4 separate regions of the Homo sapiens genome follow, and all the other regions are linked to region 3. The links are contacts of gene promoters, found by promoter capture Hi-C in human tissues and cell types (Jung and others, 2019). All regions are on one chromosome and are shown on one strand. Each heading gives the region's core, a stretch centred on a gene start or on the middle of the fragment in contact. The rest is flanking DNA. Distances are from core to core; before and after follow the strand shown. Region 1 has its middle 350 kb from the start of LINC02476. Region 2 overlaps LINC02476 (long intergenic non-protein coding RNA 2476). Region 3 holds the start of KCND2 (potassium voltage-gated channel subfamily D member 2). Region 4 overlaps LINC02476 (long intergenic non-protein coding RNA 2476).

Region 1 (2,700 bases), core at 194-2,693, 720 kb before region 3:
AAGTAGTAAGTATAAAAATTATCAATTTGAAAGCCAGCAAAATGTCAGCCTGCCCAAGTCAGCTTTCAGTTTAGATTCGGCCATTTGGAGATAGACAGTGTGTAGCTATGTTGCACACCCTCATCAAAAACAGATTATGTAAACAATCAGTAGCACATACCTATGTCACGAATTTGTGAATTACTACCAGGAATGAGGAAGAAGTCATGACCCTTTAATTACTGCAGGAAACAAAAAAAATAGAAGATTCACAAACTTGTTACCCACCAGAATAGATGATTTATAAAATAATAGTTTGTTGAGTGCTTCAGAAGCAATTGTGTGTGTATGTGTGTGCACATGTGTGTGTCTACAAACGTGTACACATTTGTTCTGTTATTCCAGTCATTACAGGTAAGCTTCATTTTGCTGTTAATCACTTTTACAATAGGTAGCTGGCATACCTATTACTTCAGTAATATTTCTTCTTACATCAATACTCAGAGAATAGCTTTACCCACAGAGTAGACTGCAAACTGTAACAGAAGAGGAGCAGACCCTATCAAAATAAAATAGAAATGGTGTGTACTCACATAATCATTGGTAATAAAATCAATAGACAAAGGAAAGCAAGAAATGCAGATGTCAGCTACTACCTCTCAGTGTAGTGATAAAAGATCGTCCAGCTTATATGAAATCTATGATTAACTCTCATTTACTTGAAATAATTTTATCATACCCAAAGGGACAGTTAAAGGAATACTGCTCTTATCACGATCAAAACACCAGAAATGAAAATCCCACTGGGGAAACAAATATTTTAATAATCAGTTCTATATCCACAGCAGTAACACAGTAGTAAAACGTCATGGATAACCAAGCTATTTCAACCTTTAATTTTCAACCTGCTTTAGGCTAGCATTCTAAATCAGAAACCAAAGGATCTCTAGAGTCCTGTGCTATTAAAACCAAATTCATTTACAGAAAGTGTATTGCTATAATTTTACCATTTACAAAACACTTTAGACAGTGTTACAGTATTGACATGAGTTTTATGGTTTCATCTCTTTACTACATACTCTGTGAGAAGAACTGATAGTAAACGTTGAGTACACAGACAGATTTTGGAATAAATTTGTAAATTTCTAACAAAGTCCCTATGTAAATTAGTAGCATGAATGCAGGCAGATTTATATGTCCACACTAATTTTAAAAAACAAATGGATTCGTTTGTTTTCCTATGAGTAACAAAACAAATAACTATATAAATCAGATGCAGGATGCCAACATATGTGTCTACTGGAAGATTTAGAAAGCCTGAAATAAAACAATGAAAGTAAACATTTATCAATAATTCCTTGAAGGCCACATTCAATGCTTGTTAACAGATTGATACTGTTATAGGAATGGGGTCGGAATCCAGACCCCAACAGTGAGTTCTTGGATCTCCCACAAGAAAGAATTCAGGGCGGGTCCATGGAGTAAAGTGAAAGCAAATTTGTAAGAAAGTAAAAGAACAAAAAAAATGGCTACTCCATAGACACAGCAGCCCTGAGGGCTCCTGGCTGCCCATTTGTATTTATTCCTTGATAATATGCTAAACAAGGGGTGGATTATTCATTCATGCCTCCTTTTTTAGACCATATAGGGTAACTGCCTCACATTGCCATGGCATTTGAAAATTCTCATGATGCTAAAGGGAGTGTAGCAGTGAGGACAACCAGAGGTCACTCTTATCGTCATCTTGGTTTTGGTGGGTTTTAGCCAGCTTCTTTACTGCAACCTGTTTTATCAGCAAGGTCTTTATGACCTGTATCTTGTGCGAACCTCCCATCTCATCCTGTGACTTAGAATGCCTTAACCATCTGGGAATGCAGCCCAGGAGTTCTCAGCCTAATTTTACTCAGCTCCTATTCAAAATGGAGGTGCTCTGGTTCACATCCCTCTGACAATAGCTTTCAAGAAATCTGCTCTGGAGGATCAAGAGTTTAAGAAATAAAGTTAATATTGTCCTAAATAATGCCTTTTACTGTCTTCAGCAAAATATCTAATAACGCTATTTGAACAGGGCGTATCAAAGTCCAATCCCTTTTGATGATTGCAGAACAGAACAAAGAAATTCTATGTTTTGCATGGAAAAAAAAGAAAGACCAACAGAACAAAAACAAGGGATCTTGGGATCTTGGCCAAGCAATTAGATTAGACTGACAATAGGCCAGCAGCTGACAACAATATTTTGGAAATGGTTTTCTAGTTACTAAAACTGTACAAAAGTGAGCCAGAGTGTAAAAATGTGCAACCTTCAGCCAGGTCATTTCAAGAGCAAAAATACTAAAATTTAAGAGCCAAAATACATATCCTTCTGCTGATGTTAATATTGTTGAGCATTCTCTACATTTGAATGTAACAGCACTATAGCTGGTCATCTAAACAGATATTGGCTCCTTAGCCAGCAAGTAGACACTTATTTGAAGCTGAAATAAATAATTGATTACAAATTCAAATGTCCTTCTTTACTTTACAAAGACAACTTTACAAAGGCAACCACAGAGATTGAGTTGCAAATATTGCCAATTTTTTTTTTTTTTTTTTTGAGACGGAGTTTTGCTCTGTCGCCCAGGCTGGAGTGCAGTGGTGCGATCTCGACTCACTGCAAGCTCCGCCTCCCGGGTTCACGCCATTCTCCTGCCTCAGCCTCCCGTGTAGCTGGGACTGCAGGCG
Region 2 (2,700 bases), core at 31-2,530, 550 kb before region 3:
TTTGTTCTTAGATCACCTTTTAGGAACATAAATCTGTAAGCCATTTTTGTCAAGATATATTAAAATTAAAATAATTTATCTATGCTGCAATTCCTCTACTGAATATGTACCCTGAAAGACAAGTATATGTGTGCAAAGGTGGCCATATTTACAAATGCTTATCGTTGATTGTTCATAACAGATAAAAAATGGAAAACTCTAAAAACCCATTTGAAAGAAGCCAATTATTATTGCTATATATTCTTTATTCTATTTATATAAAGTTTGAAATATGTCAATAGTGTAGTGCCAGAAAGCAAGTAAGTGGTTGTTGGGGGTAAGAGATGAGAAGTGACCTTGATTGTCAAAAAGCACATAAAAATGTGGGGGTTAATGGAAATATTCTATATCATATTCGTGTTGGTGTTTCTATTATTATACACACAGCTCATCAAATCAAACATTGAAAGTTGGAGGATTTGTTTGTAAATTATATTTTACTAAAGCTGATTTAAAACTGAAGGAGAGAATGGTGATGATGAATATGTAGTATCTTGCTAATTCATGTTGTTGGTTTTAATCTCATTAAGAATAAACACTGCAACTCTTCTCTATGACATTTAGAATCAATACTAATATTGCTAAGTAGTTGTCTTAGACTGTTCATGCTACTGTAACAAAATACCTCGGACTAGGTAATTTATAAGTAAGAGAAATTAATTTTCTCTGTGTTCTGGAAATAGACAGTCCACTATTAAGGGGCTGGCAAAGTTGATGTCAACAGAACTGTCAACAGTTCTTATACTGTTCCTTCCTGCTGTGTCCTTATGTGGTGGAAGGCAAAAGGGCAAAATGACCTAATTAAATCCCTCCAGTTCTTTCATAAGGTCACTGATCCATTCATGAGGGTAAAGCCTACCTAACTTAATCACTTCACAGAAGGCCCCAATGCTTAATACTATCACATTAAGTCTTAGATTTCAATCTAAGAATTTTGGAAAAATATATGCATTGAAACCATAGCAGTAGCTTATTCTATTTATTGTGTTGTTCTAGTTCTGCATCTCAAGGCAAGACATGTGAAGTCAAATATTTTATTTTCACAAACTTTTCTACAGAGAATAATATCCACTTTTACAGGTTGTTTTATATAGTTGGTAATTAAGAGGAGAATAAGAAATGCAAAGTATGAAGGGTAAGTAGCAAGAGGGTATCTTTATATTGTAAAGGTGCATCCTTAGAACTCCACTAAAGGTCTATAAAGTAATCCTTCAAAAAAGAATACAAATAAAAATTATACAACAACAAAAATCAAAACTGGTAACCAGATGGCTTCATGACTGAGAGCTCAGTTGCAGTTGTCCTCTGACGGTCAGGAGTGATGGTAAGACATGATTTTATAGAATTAGGTTCACTATGCTCAGCCGATCTACCTGTATGCCACTTTCCTGTTTTCAAACATGCGTTTTATATAGACATACCTAACAGTCACCAGAATCTCCACACTAATCCTTTGATTCTAAGATACGAGTTATGGTAGTAGAAAGTAAAATGGGAGAGTTCCCTGACTCCCCCGGCAGGAAATGTGACAGGGTGTGGCTCGCCTGTTGAGTCGCCTGGCTGCTCAAACGCCTTGCAAGAGGGGGAGCACACAGACTGGCAGGTGAAGGAGCCCAGGTGGGCGCGTGTTACAATGTGCCCTTTTAGCTTTGCCGTTTGAGGATGGCTTGAGTATTAATCAGCTCAATTAACCCTCTGCCTTTCTGCAAGGGCAGAGGGCCAGTGTGACAGCTTTCTGGATCCTGAGCTTCTGTCCAGCATCCAGGAAAAATCAAGTTACACATGGACTCCAAAGATGAATGCTAGGTTTTTACTGAATGGTGGAGGTGACTTTCAGCAGGATAGATGGGGAGCTGGAAGCAGGGAGATGGAGTAAGAAGGTGATTCTCCCCTGGAGCTGGAACTTCCAACAGCCAAACCCCTCACCGACTGCCCCAGCCGAACTCCTCTGGGTGTCTAGACACCCCTCCTTTTCTCTGGCGTGCTGCCCTGCTGCTTTCTGCCACTCTCCACCACTCTCTGCTGTTCTCTGCTGTTCTGTTCCTCTGCTCCTCTGGATGTTCAGCCACCTGTGTGTGTGCCTGCTAAGGTCTCAGGTTTATATAGGCACAGGATGGGAGGCATGGCAAGCCAAAAGGCAACATTTTGGGCACGAAAACAGAAATGCCAGTTCCCATTTAGAACCGCAGTCTCCAGGCATGAGCATGGGGCCTTTGCCGGGGAACCACCCTCTTCTACCCAGTATTTCCCTCTCTCCTTCCTATATCAAAAGGACAGAAAAAACCCCTGAAAATTGCTACCCAGGATTTCAGCAAAGAAGATGTAGAGGAGAGATGGGCCTATTTCATGGGATCCACTGTACCATGTAACTCCAGAAGTTGCCAGCTGACAGTGATAAACTGGCCTCTTAAAGGTGCATGTTAGATGCCAGCAGCTCAGTGATACCCCATGATGAGTGGTCACAACTCTTTAGGATGTGGACAGCTCTTAAACCAATGCAGGTATGTAAATAAATGGGTCCAAGAATAAGGGGGTAGAAGTAATAATGAGGATACTTGAATTTTTACTTTTCAGCCTCTAACTTTTGTATAAAAAGTGAGTTCCTTGTCACTGTCTAGTCACATCTGCAATAATCTATCTGGTGTTTCTGAGAGACAGAGT
Region 3 (2,876 bases), core at 297-2,796:
GTTAACAAGCATCTTTCACTTAAACAAATAGATAAAGAGCAGGTGTCTTCAGTTCCTTGTCCTCAAACTTAAATGGTGCATTAGCTCTGACTTCATTACTACTGACACAGGATTCCTTAAATCTCTATTCTGTAAACAAATAAACAAACAAAAAATACCCTTTTATCTCTACAGAAAATCCTGTACATGATAAGGATATTTTAAATTCTCTGGTTATTTTCTATACTCATTTTTTAGTTTATATATTTTCTTTGACGTATCCCATTTCAAATTTTCAAGGTTGACACATCATGCCTGTAATCTCTAGGGCTTAAAAGTCAATTTCCGTAAAGTACAACACACAGTCCACTTATTTTACAAACCAAGGGCAGTCAAACCAAGCCATGAAAAGTAATTTTTAGGTAGAAATTAGGCTACTATTCTTCATCAATACAGATGAAGCCTCATTATTGCCAAAGATCTTAATTACTATGATGATGATGATTCAGTAATCTAGATTTAATTTTCAAAGGAATTTCAAAAGGAAACTCTCCACATCTCATCCCACAACTATCCAAATGCAGACTCAAGCCTAAGTAGTATATGTCACATAAACACAAAAAAGGTGGGTGGCAGCGAAGGGGTTTGGGGATGTTTATGTGATCTGACTCTCTGTTGGACCAGTTAATTTTGATCCTTCACCTTCCTAAAGCATCCAAACCTTAGGTGCAGATTTAACTTCTCGCCATCCACGCCATCTAGTGGCTTGTATGTGTTACGTTTGGTTTTAAGGATGATTCCTAATGACTCGGGGGCGGGGTACGCGAAAAACAAAAAGGTTGGTAGCGACAATTTTCCTGTGTCTCTCTACCTCAGTAACCCCTCATACGAACACCTTTAACTCTTTTAACTATTTTAAATATGCGCAGTGATGCGCAGAGAGGATGAAGGGGACGCAAACTTTCAGAGACGCACGCCCCTTGACGATGACATTTAGAAAAGGGCTCCACATCCCTGTTATTCGTAAAGGACGGGAAAAGGAGTTGTGTCAAGACCTCGATCGAGGAGAGTCTCTGATTTTTTGGCAAGTTGGACAGATGGCATATCAATCCCTGCAACGTTAACAATCTGGTTTTGAAAATAAATAAAAACAGAAAGAGGAAATGCACTTAAAAATTCCGCGTCGGAGCTTTGCGGGTCTTGCCTTCCAGTCGCCCCCAGAAGACAACCAATTCCTGCGCATTCCGCTCCGCTCACCCTCCTTCCCAGCTTCTCTCGCTCTCTTTCCCCCCATTTTCCCACGCTCGCCTTGAACCGGGACTCGAGAGGCAGAAGCAAGGCACGGGTCCCCTTTCTCCTCTCCTCCACCAAACCACCGCAGCCCAGCACGTGAAGCTTCCCTTTGTTCATCCGAGGCTCGCTTTTCTCCCCAGCAGATCCACCTGGATGCTCTCCCTCGGTGACATTTTGCGCCGGGGTTGGTGGGTGGCTGGGGTGGAGCGAGAGGAGCCCGAGGGGGCGGGGGCGGAGAAAGGTCAAGCCGAGGGAAAGGCAGGAGACGCCTTTCCTAACCTGCGTGGCGGGGCGTGCGCGCGGTTATTTATTTATTTTCTCCTTATTTATTGATCGCACTAGCAGAGCAGCGCGGGGAGCCCGGGGAGATGCAGGACCACCCACTGGCGGGGAAGCAGCTAGCAGCCCTCCCGCGCCCCCGCGCTGCCGAGCGCCTTCTGCCTCCGCGCTCGGACGAGAGCCCGTGCCGGCCCCGGCCCCGGCCCCACCGCGCCAACGCCGCCCGCCCGGCCGCCCCGCAGCCCCGCCGCCCCGCAGCCCCGCACCGCGCTGGCCAGGCTCCCGCGACAGTGGCCCCGCAGTAAGTTGGCAGGAGCGAGTCCCCTCCGTTCTCGCCTCCCCCGCACCTTTTGAACTTGTTGCTGCTGCTCTGCTCGCCTGCGCCTGGCTTTTGGAAGGTGAAAAGGAGGAGGGAGGCACGGAGGGATGGGGGAAGGGAAAGAAGAGCTCGCTTGAGCTTTATTTATGCTCTCTCGGCGCATCGGATTCGGCTGCTCGCGAGCTGCTTTCTCTCCTCTTCCCTTTCCGGGTGCACGGCGAGGAGAAAGTCTCTATGCAACTAAGCCCCGGCGCGCACTTGGCCAGGTATGTACCGCGGGAGCGGCGCGTTCTGCGCGGAAGCAGATGCTGCTGCCGCCACGGCGGCGGCGGCTGCCAGCTCCTGAGCTCTGTAACTGTCACACTGCACCTGAGCTGAACTTGAAAAGAGAGTGAAGGGGCGATTGGGCGAACGCTTTTGGCAGACACAGAGGGTGTTTGTAGACGTGGGGGAGGAGAATCTCTATTAACGCCCCCCACCGTAACCACTGCACATCACCTCCATCTCTGCAAATACAGCCCGAGGAGTAGAGGCAGCAGCAGCTGGACCCCCAAAGAGAGACGTGGGGCAGCGGCTGTGACCGCATCTCCTGAGCTACAACAACAGGTCGCCTTTTTGAGACTCCTTTGGCGGGAAGGGCTACTTGGAAAGGAAGGTTTGAAAGAGTGAGAAGGGTAGGTGTAAGGGTTCCCTAATTCGTCGAAAGAATTCTATTGGGTGACTCTCGTTCGTCTTCTCTATCCTACACTCCACATACTGACCCTATATTATCCAGACTGTGCCGGGGAGAAATCAAAAACACCTGTTTGAAGAAACGGCTGCACCTGTGTGCTTATTTGTGCCAGAGGGTGGCCTAGCCCACCTGCAGGAAGAGATTTGGCTGGGTTCTGTTGAGGGTGATTGTTAGGACGTTGTATTTTGTTGCCATTATTCCAAATACCTGTCTTGGAGGGAAAGTTGCCCTTCTGAGAACTGTGACTTTACCAGGAGCCCTATCTTGGAATAA
Region 4 (2,700 bases), core at 21-2,520, 530 kb before region 3:
ATTAGTCAATAAGATTACAACCTGCTAACTAGATATAAGTATTTCTTGTGAAACTTAAAGCTTATTACACAGAGACAAAAATCTAAAAGTTTTACAATGTGATTGCTACAAGATTTCTTTTCTTATTAATTTAACTCATTGAAAATAATGAGTCTTCATCATTTAGTGCTGAAAGTTAAAGATTCTTTTAAACTCAAGATGAACATGAAAACTATTATTTTACTTTGTCATTATTGTTATTTAAAAATTATAGCAGATCTTGCTGGCATCATTCTATTGTAAGTGCAGTTTGTCACGAGTTTATGACTCAATGGTTTTAATTCATATAAAAACAAACCAGCACACAAAGTTGCCAGTCTTTTTTTCTGAAAAAAATTAAATGAGTTATTTTTATCACAAAAGACACAGAATATAAATGAACAAATAAATCAATATACATTTTTAAATATCCATATTTTGTTGTTACAGAAAATGAGGTAATGTTAATTTAAAAATATATTTATGAATATTTTTCTCACTTAAATTCAGTTGTCAGTTGCAATCTAAATATGACACCAGCATGATTACCATTATTAATAGTAATGGTAATTAGCTTGAATAATAGTAATTATTAATAATAATTCTAAAAATACTATTTTACACACTAATATGTCCCTAAAACTATGTTGAAAATGACATTAAGTAGACACTGAAAAAATTACTGTTCATCAGAAATACTTGAAATCTTTACAAAAAGCCATAGTGAAAAGACAAAGGTACTTTGTAGTTTTGTAAATTAAAACATTGGTTAAATATAACGAGAGAGTTGCATATAAATTGTTTCATAAAATCATATTTTCTGCTGTGTGAATAAAGCCTCATTTATTGATATAATATTTTCTTTTTACTGTGACTTAAAATGTGGCAGAATAATTAATAAAAATGTAGACCCTCATTAATATGACATAGAATGTGGTATAATGCATCTGGCTGAGATGCATTACACAGGATAATAATTACTTATGGTACTAGAGGTATTCATCCAGTCTCACAAAATAGTGTTGCTAGTATGGCATTACAGTGTGGTTTACATAGTGTAGATACATTTGAGGGTTCTATGTAAATGAAAACCGCTATAAATAAATAAGGAGAAATAATTATTTAAATTCAAAGGAAAAGTTCTTTGAAAAGACTGATAAAATTGATAAACCTTTAGAAAGTCTCACAAAAGAGAAAATTCAAGAGTAAAGACAAATTGCTAATATAAGAAATACAATAGTTCATATAACTACAGACACTGCAGAAATCAAAAGGATAGTAAGGGAATAATAGAAGTAGCTCTACATATCTGAACTGAACAATTTGGACTCTATGAACCAATTCTTTTAAAAGTACATACTAAAACAATTCTTTCAGTATAAAATACATAATTTAATAGCCTTGCAACTATTAAGACATGAATTCATAATTTTTAAAACAACCCAACAAGAAATCTTCCAGCCCTGATATTCACTGAAGAATTCTAAGAAACACTTAAAAAGGAATTAAAACAAATTCTATACCCTTTTTTTTACAGAAAAGAAGTAAATACTTCCCAAATAATTCTTTAAAGTCAGTATTAACCTGACTTTAAAACTAGATAAAACACACACACAGACATACACACACATCCAAAAACTACACACCAATATCTCTCACAAATATACATGCAAAAATTCTATACCAAATATTAGCAAATAGTACTTAGTACACAAAAATATCTATATACACTATGACTAAATTAGGTTTATTTTGGGGATGCAAGGCTGATTGCACATTTGAAAAGTAGTTAATTTATGAAATTAGCAAGCTAATTTTAAAAAAATCACATGATCATATCAATAGATAAAGAACAAACCTCTGACAAAATTCAACATCCATTCTTGATTATAAAAAATCAGAACAATAATAAATATGTGGGAACTTCCCTGGATTGGTAAAGAATATCTACATAAAAATTGAAGCTGACATCATATTTAATGGTGAAAGACTGAATGACTTTCCTCTAATATGGGAAACAAAGCAAGGATGCTCACTTTCACCACTAATTCTATTTGATACAAGTGGTTCTAGACAGGAAAACAAGGCAAGAAAAAAATTTAAAGCATACAGTTTCAAAAAGAAGAAATAAGACTGCTGTTTTGTGCAGATGTCACAAATGTCTGTGTTAGTCTATTTTCACACTGCTGATAAAGACACACCCAAGACTGGGAAGAAAAAGAGGTTTAATTGACTTCCAGTTCCACATGGCTGAAGAGGCCTCACAATTACGGTGGAAGGCAAGGAGGAACAAGTCATGTCTTACATGGATGGCAGCAGGCAAAGAAAGAGCTTGTGCAGGGAAATTCCTCCTTATAGAGGCATCAGATCTTGGGTGACTTATTTACCATCATGAGAACAGCATGGGAAAGACCTGCCCTCATGATTCAATTACCTCCCACCAGGTCCCTCCCACAACATGTGGGAATTCAAGATTAGATTTGAGTGGGAACACAACCAAACCATATCAATATCCATGTAGAAAATCCCAAAGTATCTACAAAAATTTCGTAAAGCTAATTAGTGCATTCAGCAAGGTCACAAGGTACAAGATCAACATACAAAAATTTTTGCATTTCTATATTCTAGCAATGAACATGTAGACAACAAAATCAACACTACAATATTATTTAGTTATTTAAA

What was found. The method cuts DNA at HindIII sites, captures the fragments that hold promoters and counts their contacts. A contact is called where the count stands out against the background at its distance.
Region 1: a fragment that was not itself captured here is called in contact with the fragment with the promoter of KCND2 in region 3 in 3 of the 25 tissues and cell types used here (heart left ventricle, mesendoderm cells and thymus).
Region 2: a fragment that was not itself captured here is called in contact with the fragment with the promoter of KCND2 in region 3 in 4 of the 25 tissues and cell types used here (H1 embryonic stem cells, heart left ventricle, mesendoderm cells and 1 more).
Region 4: a fragment that was not itself captured here is called in contact with the fragment with the promoter of KCND2 in region 3 in 4 of the 25 tissues and cell types used here (dorsolateral prefrontal cortex, mesenchymal stem cells, mesendoderm cells and 1 more).

Annotation. Positions count from the first base shown.
Region 1 is chr7:119,554,439-119,557,138 of GRCh38, forward strand. No RefSeq gene overlaps it. Among named protein-coding and RNA genes, the nearest start is that of LINC02476, 350 kb to the right of the region's middle. The HindIII fragment of the contact is 6,938 bases long and covers 1-2,700 here.
Region 2 is chr7:119,722,560-119,725,259 of GRCh38, forward strand. The region is part of intron 4 of LINC02476 (long intergenic non-protein coding RNA 2476); the gene reads right to left. Among named protein-coding and RNA genes, the nearest start is that of LINC02476, 180 kb to the right of the region's middle. The HindIII fragment of the contact is 7,150 bases long and covers 1-2,700 here.
Region 3 is chr7:120,271,629-120,274,504 of GRCh38, forward strand. It overlaps KCND2 (potassium voltage-gated channel subfamily D member 2), which reads left to right and starts at 1,547. Exons shown (of 6, transcript NM_012281.3): 1 at 1,547-2,876. RefSeq lists silencers at 634-733, 1,653-1,802 and an enhancer at 2,243-2,312. The HindIII fragment of the contact is 5,227 bases long and covers 498-2,876 here.
Region 4 is chr7:119,743,153-119,745,852 of GRCh38, forward strand. The region is part of intron 4 of LINC02476 (long intergenic non-protein coding RNA 2476); the gene reads right to left. Among named protein-coding and RNA genes, the nearest start is that of LINC02476, 160 kb to the right of the region's middle. The HindIII fragment of the contact is 4,324 bases long and covers 1-2,700 here.